Regions from separate parts of the Homo sapiens genome. Here region 1 is linked to region 2. The links are contacts of gene promoters, found by promoter capture Hi-C in blood cells and fetal thymus (Javierre and others, 2016). All regions are on one chromosome and are shown on one strand. The core of a region is centred on a gene start or on the middle of the fragment in contact, and the rest is flanking DNA. Distances in the headings are between cores, read along the strand shown.

Region 1 (3,496 bases), core at 748-3,247, 370 kb after region 2:
AGCCTCTCAAAGTGCTGGGATTACAGACGTGAGCCACTGCGCCCAGCCCAGAATGATCTTTCTAAAATACAATTTTGATGGTGTCATTCCTATGCTTGAAAACATGTAATGGCTTACTACTGCCAACAGTGGTGGTTCTTAAATTATGCACCTGGGGATTTTTGTTGTTCTGAGCATTAGACAAAGGTGTTTAGGGCAGCTAAAATCAAGCAGAGTGTAATGTCAATAAGGTCAATCACTGGAACAAAAAACAATTAAGAGATAGATATAGCTATATCTTTTCCCCTATGTGTTTTATAAATATTTCAGACTTGTTATAGTATGTCTATTAAATAGACTTAATAGGTATCAAAATAACAACACAAAACACAATATTAACTCTGAAAGAGTCAACTATGCTTAATTCAACAATTAGTTTTGCTCCTTGAGAGGTAATGGAAAATGTACTCATGATTCTTATTTCATATCATATTCATGTCATGTATTTTTCCAGTTCATATGATAGTTAAATATATGCTTAAAAAATCTAGAAACTAACAACTTCTATATGCACTGCTTCTTGAATCAACCCGAAAACCACTTACATATCACCCGTCTGTGATGCCATAGGCAACACACGTCACTGCTCTCACAGTTCAATTTATAACCCTCCACTGACACACCTACCCCACTTTATTTTACTTTTTTATTAAATGTCTATCTCCTGAATTAGGGAATTCATTGAGGAGAGAAGCAATATACTAATCACCTTTAAATCAGAACTGCCTCACACATAGTAGGCACTCAATAAAAATGCCCTAGAAAAAGCAGAGAGTTCAACAATAATATGAGAGAGCAAGACTGCCAACTATTGATTACAGTTATAGAGTTTCATAACTTGAGAGCAAAGTCTATAAAATATTTCTGTTTCCAGTATAATATATAGCACATTATAAAGATAAAATAAAATCATTCGACAACTATTTTAATTCATGCTTTCTAATATACCGGGCAAGACAATGTGTTAAATACAACAAAGTTTCATTAAAAACATGTCAATGTTGATTTTTAAGAATTTTCTTTAAAGCGTGCACTACTCAGAGCCATCAAATTAAATTAAGGATTCTGTCTATATCTACAAAACTGAATTATAATTGTAAATAATTTTTAATTCTATAAACGCAAACTGGATAATAAATACTAAATTGCCTTTAAATGACTCCCATATAAAAAGCTGTTATCTAGGTCAATGAACTTGGTTCAGTCTCTACAAATGCTCACGCTTAAACATATAAGTAAACAAACAAATTAACAAATGTAGTTGAAATCTTTACCTCATTATTGCAAGTAAAATTCTACCAAAAGAAAAGCCTGCTGGCATTGTTTTCATAGTTGCACTTTTAACTGTGCTAAGTTTTGGGGTTTTTTTTTTTCCATGTTAGAAACAGATTCCAAGCTTTATGAAACTTTTTATTATATCCTAGCATTTTCAGGTGGTGGTTTTTATGTTTGTTTGAATTTTTGAGCCCTCCAGATATTCCCTATCAACTTAACTTTTATTACAGAAATATATTTCATAGGTAAAGAATATAAGCAGTCAGAGACATAATGTATACTAAGGCTTACAGTTTATATTCATATTAAATATCTTATTTGCCTCAAACTGATTCTTTAAGGCCCATGGCCTATGGACCAGTGGTAATGTTTGCTTTCAAAGCTAGCATTTTAAGATGAAATCTGAATAGACCATACGAAAGGAAAAAAAAAATCTGAACTACTTACGGCCAGCAAGCAGGAACTGATAATACTGTACTGCATCTGCAGCGAGGAGCAGAGGGTGGTTTGCATTAAACGGTGGCTGCAATTCATTCCATTGAGGGGTTCTAAGGAAACAGGAGAAGAATATTAATATTTAAGCTTAATAGATGGGATGTAAATCACCATGACTGTCATCACTTATGAACAGTGACTTAAACTCACACTACTTTTGTGATCATTAAAATGAACTTGTAATCATTAAAATGAATGTGATGAAACCTGAAACACAAGGCCATCTGCTTAGAAAAAATAAAAAGGTGGCAGTCTTTCATACAAATAACATGCAGTCAATATAAGCTTAACAGCAGAAGACCCTCCAACAGGATAGGCAAGACATTCAGAAGATTAAACAGGTGTAAAATTCAAATGTTACAACTAACTAGTTCTAATTTATGTAATTTCTGACCTCTCTATTCTTAAAATATGTGTATATTTTAAAATAAAATGAAGTAGGTAAAAATGGTTAATAAAACACAGCTGTGTAAATGGATGACTTATTATAGATCAAATTAGCATCTGAGTTCTGAAATAAGTTACTATTTCAACAATGATAGTGTAGTAACTTTAATTAGATCTGCCCACTCCTAAATAAGCTTGATAAATCAGATATTGATCAGATCAATCCAGCATAGTAAAGTAGTAGTAAAGAATGCTGGAGCCTCCAAAAATCAATACAAGAATATTTTAAAATGTCAAAAGGACAGGGATCATTTTCATATCCATTTTTGTCTGTTTCCTTCCATACATGTCAGGAGCAATTTTTTCTTTCCTGGACAATGAACTATATTAAAGAGGTTTTATTCCAGGTTTTTTTTCCTTTTGGTTATAGCTTATAAAGATTCTAATCATTATGCACGTTTGAGATGGACTCTGATTCTTAATAAACATTCCTATAAGGCTTAACCACTGTATCTTGGAGAATTACTTTCAGAGAAACCTTTGAATCTATCTATATTAGTTTCTATTCCCCTTAATGGCTATCTCAATGTTACTCTCTATTTTCGGTGAGCATGAGATTGCAAATAGAGGAAGCATAAATCCAAGAAAATTTAACACAGAAGTGCAAGGGGGAAATAAGTTCAAACAGAGGTATTCTCCAAGGTACATACAGAAGACAATTAAAAAAATATGTTCATGGGCCGGCGCGGTGGCTCACGCCTGTAATCCCAGCACTTTGGGAGGCCGAGGTGGGTGGATCATGAGGTCAGGAGATCAAGACCATCCTGACTAACACAGTGAAACCCTGTCTCTAGTAAAAATACAAAAAATTAGCTGGCGTGGTGGCTAGTGCCTGTAGTCCCAGCTACTCAGGAGGCTGAGGTAGGAGAATGGTGTGAACCTGGGAGGTGGAGCTTGCAGTGAGCCGAGATCACGCCACTGCACTCCAGCCTAGGTGACAGAGCAAGACTCCATCTCAGGAAAAAAAAAAAATGTTCACACAAGAATCTGTACATGAATGTTCACAGCAACATTATTTAATAACAGCTTAAAAAGTAGAAATATCCATCAACTAATAAATGGATAAACAAAATGCAGTATAACCATATAATGGAGTATTATGTAGCCATAAAAAGGAGTGAAATTCTGACACACGCTACAACATGGATAGATCTTGAAAATATGCTAAGTGAAAGAAGCCAGACACAAAAGGTCACATATTATATGATTCCACTTACATGAAATGATCAGAGTAGCAAAA
Region 2 (3,380 bases), core at 289-2,788:
TTGACCCAGAGCATTGGTGGCTTTTAATCCAAGGGCGAGATTCTCAGGCTGACCCCTGGGCCCTCCCCAGTCCCCACCACCTCCCGCTGGAATAACGCAGCCCAAAGCCTCCCCTATGGAGGCAGGAACTTAGGTGAGCAGCTCCACAGGGCACATCCTGCCCTCGACCCTGAAGACCCCGCCCTGAAGAGCCGGATGAGGGTGGTGAGGAGGGCGGGTCGGAGCCGAGGGGGCCCTCTCCGCTGGAGGAGCGCTGGATCCCCGCCGATCCTTCCCCTATCCCGCCCGTAAGTCCTCACCGTCGAGTGGGCCCCGCGCTCCTAGGGCCGTGCGCCCCGCGCGCTGCGGATGCCAGCCACAGCCCCCTTCGGAGGGGCCCAGGAGGCCGGAGGCCGGCGGCTCACTTCCCGCAGAGAGAACGCGAGGGCCCAGCCCCGCGGGCGCGCAGAAGAGGACAAGCTGGGGTCTGCAGCAGCCTGGAAGGTCGCCGAGCTGGCGCTGCCGGGCGGTTCTGGCAGCAGGGGAGAAGGCCCCACCCCGAGCCTCAAGCCCTCCGCTCAGTGTGTCCGCAGCCCCGGAGTCCCTCGGTCCCTCGGCGGCCTGTGCCGGGCTCCGGACCCGGCTCTGCCTGTGTCGGTGGCTGTGCCTCCGTGCCCCGCTTGCCGGGGTCCGCAGTCTATCTCCCGCTCTCGCCCGAGGCGGGCTGTGAGGCCGCGGCCCGGGCCCTGGCCTGCAGCGCCATCTCGTGGACCTGTGAGGAGTTGCCGAGGCCCGAGGCCTGGGCGGGCTCTGGGTTCGCTCCCACTCGTGCTCCCGGCGGGGAGCTGCGGGAGCTGCCAAGAGGACTCGCTGGGAAACCAGGCGCGGCCGTCAGCGCTGGAAATCGGTGCTTCCGGAGTGGGTTTGGGGTCCCCGGCCCCATCCAATAGGAGGAACAGATATGCGCCTCCGGAGAGCCCAAAAGGAAGTCCAAGTGCAAAACCGCCCCGGGCGTGCTCGGACACGTTCAGCGCCCGGCAACCAGCCTCCACCCCGAAGGCGCTCCCGGGAGGGTGCCCAGGAGACCCGGAGCTCGGGCTTCCTCCCAAGAGGGCGGGGGCTCCCTCCGCTGCCGCCCTGTCCTGCGAGCAGGGAGCGCTCGGCCTCCTGCGGGATCCCGCCTGACCGCCGGTGCTCCGCACCTCGGGGCCAAGGACAGCGAAGGAGGGGGAGGAAGCGGGACTGGATTTTGGGTCCTTCCCAGAGCGGAGGAAGGCAGGCTCGGGGTATAAATCCAGGGCTCGTAGAGGCTGTCCCTCAAGGGGCCGTCCCATAACCGGGAAATAGGGGGTCCCGGCCTCAAGCCGGGGCGCTTGAGCGTGAGAGTCCCGGGGAGAGCGAGGCTGAGCGCGCCCCTCCCGCCCCAGGAGCACCCCACGCAGGAGTTCGCGGTCAGCTGGGGAGGCGGGCCCGGGAGCTGCGGCCTTCGGGAGGGCAGGGCCAGGCCATACCGGTGGCTCCGGTTCTCCACAGCAGCGGCGGGGGAGTGGAGGAGGAAGGGCTTGAGGGCTCGGAAGATTCCGATTAACCCGAGAGGAAATGAGGTCCCCTGGGCCTTGGGATCCGGGCGGCTTAGCCGCTAGGGGTCTCTCGGAGCCCCTGCACTCACACCCTCCATCTCCGAGTTCCTCCGGGAATCGCACGCGCCACCCCACACCGACACGCACAATTCCCTCTTAGACCTCACACGCCCCACACGCGAGAGCCCGAGGCGACAGGCTAGGCCGCCAGCAGGTATCGCCATCGTCCCAGCACTGGCCCTCCTGCCACGCGTGTGCCGGCGGCTCTGCCGTCCAAGGACCCCGGGCCAGGCCCTGAAGGGTTAAGGAGGCCTTGCGGCACCGGAGCGGCGGGTACGCCGGGCGCCTAGGCTAATTGGCGACCCCGGGGACAATGAGGGCTGGGAGGCCGGGGAGGAGGGTGGCTTAATTGGACATGGGAGTGGCCTAGCCTTTGTCTGGGACAAGGCCCAGCCGCCGGCCGCGGGTTCCCGCAGTCGCACTCAGGCTACCAGCTGGGGCCCCGCGGAGCGCCGGGTGGGCGACTCGGAGGGGACATGTGCGGCGGGAGGTGGCGGCGAAAGTGGTGTGGGGGATCTCGAGGCCCTGGAGTCCCACCCCACCCCACCCGGGTTGCTGCAGCAACGACGCGGCCTAAAAACGGCCGCGACTAGGCCGCCCCGCCCGGCCTTCGCAGGCACCCGCCTCCCCCGCGCCCATGCCCGCACCCGCACCCCTCCCGCGACCCTAAGTCGGTGCTGCCCCCTGGTGTCCGCAGCCCTGTACGTAGGCCGCCGCGGGCGCGCAGCCGACTCTCGTCTCCCTCCTAATGTCCTGCTGAAAGTGAGAAGCCGCGGGACGCAAACGCGCCGCTCCTCTAGGAGTATGAGAGGCGTTTCAGCCCAAAGCGACCTCCAGCAAACGCGCTGCCCACGAGCTTCTATTTAGGCTGGAAAACGGGCTTCTCTGTCCCTGTCGGGTTCCCGGACCTGCCCGCAGGTCTGAGGCAGGGAAGCCAGAACCCACCCTCTGGGGTTGGGATACGTTCTACTGCAACCTCCCACTCGTGCACTGGCTGAGTCCCCTCCCTGCTCCAGCCGCATTCGGCGTGGCCTGGGGGCAGCACCATCCTGAAGAGGCGGGCCTGGTTCTCTCTCTCTCGCTCCTTGCAAATGTATCGGCCCACAAAGGCGTCCTGGGAGTCTGGGGGCCCAACTGTCCATTCCACCTTCACCATCACCGTTCCTCCATCTCAACGTCCCTGGTGTTTTGGAAGCCAGCACCCTCCCCAAGCCCCACCCTGTGCAGTGCCCAAGGTGGGCAGCCTGTTGGGGCAGGGCGTTCAGGGTCCCCAAGGCTTAAAGAGGAGAGAACTGGGAAGGAGGTGGCGTGCTCGGTGACCGACCAGACCCAGGGCTAAAGGAGTGCCCGCCCAGCTCCCACTGCTAGAAGTGGGGGCTGGAGACACCTGCTAGCTGGGCAAGGAGGGGGAGCTCACCGGCGCGGGGTGGGAGGCAGCTGTCCTTGCAGGAGTGGGTCTCGGGGAAGGACCAGCCTAATGGAGACTGACACAGCTGGACCCCGGAGAGACCCCAGCCAAGCCCATTATTATACAGGGGAAACTGAGGCAGGAATGGAAATAGCCCACTGACCCCACTCTCCACTCTCCCAAGAGGGATTTAGATAGATGAGTTAAAGTAAGACCTTTTAGTCCAGATTTTGCCACTCTAGCCAACAGCCCTGACGCGGAGGAAATGTTTGTCTTTGAGGTTCAGGAGGCAGAGAGAGGGGAAAGAATTCTAGGCTCAGCGATATTTGGCGGGGAGTACGGGGGTGGGACAC

What was found. Contacts are between HindIII fragments. The CHiCAGO score rates a contact against its expected background, and 5 or more counts as called.
Region 1: a fragment that was not itself captured here is called in contact with the fragment with the promoter of LINC02875 in region 2 in 1 of 17 cell types (total CD8 T cells); the score reaches 5.6 in total CD8 T cells.

What each region holds. Positions count from the first base shown.
Region 1 is chr17:61,039,158-61,042,653 of GRCh38, reverse strand. BCAS3 (BCAS3 microtubule associated cell migration factor) reads right to left here. Exons shown (of 24, transcript NM_017679.5): 19 at 1,762-1,862. All of the region lies in intron 4 of BCAS3-AS1 (BCAS3 antisense RNA 1), which reads left to right. Among named protein-coding and RNA genes, the nearest start is that of BCAS3-AS1, 95 kb to the left of the region's middle. The HindIII fragment of the contact is 198 bases long and covers 1,899-2,096 here.
Region 2 is chr17:61,409,909-61,413,288 of GRCh38, reverse strand. It overlaps LINC02875 (long intergenic non-protein coding RNA 2875), which reads right to left and starts at 1,538. Exons shown (of 1, transcript NR_160788.1): 1 at 9-1,538. RefSeq lists silencers at 532-591, 612-671, 2,192-2,361 and an enhancer at 2,241-2,823. The HindIII fragment of the contact is 15,544 bases long and covers 1-3,380 here.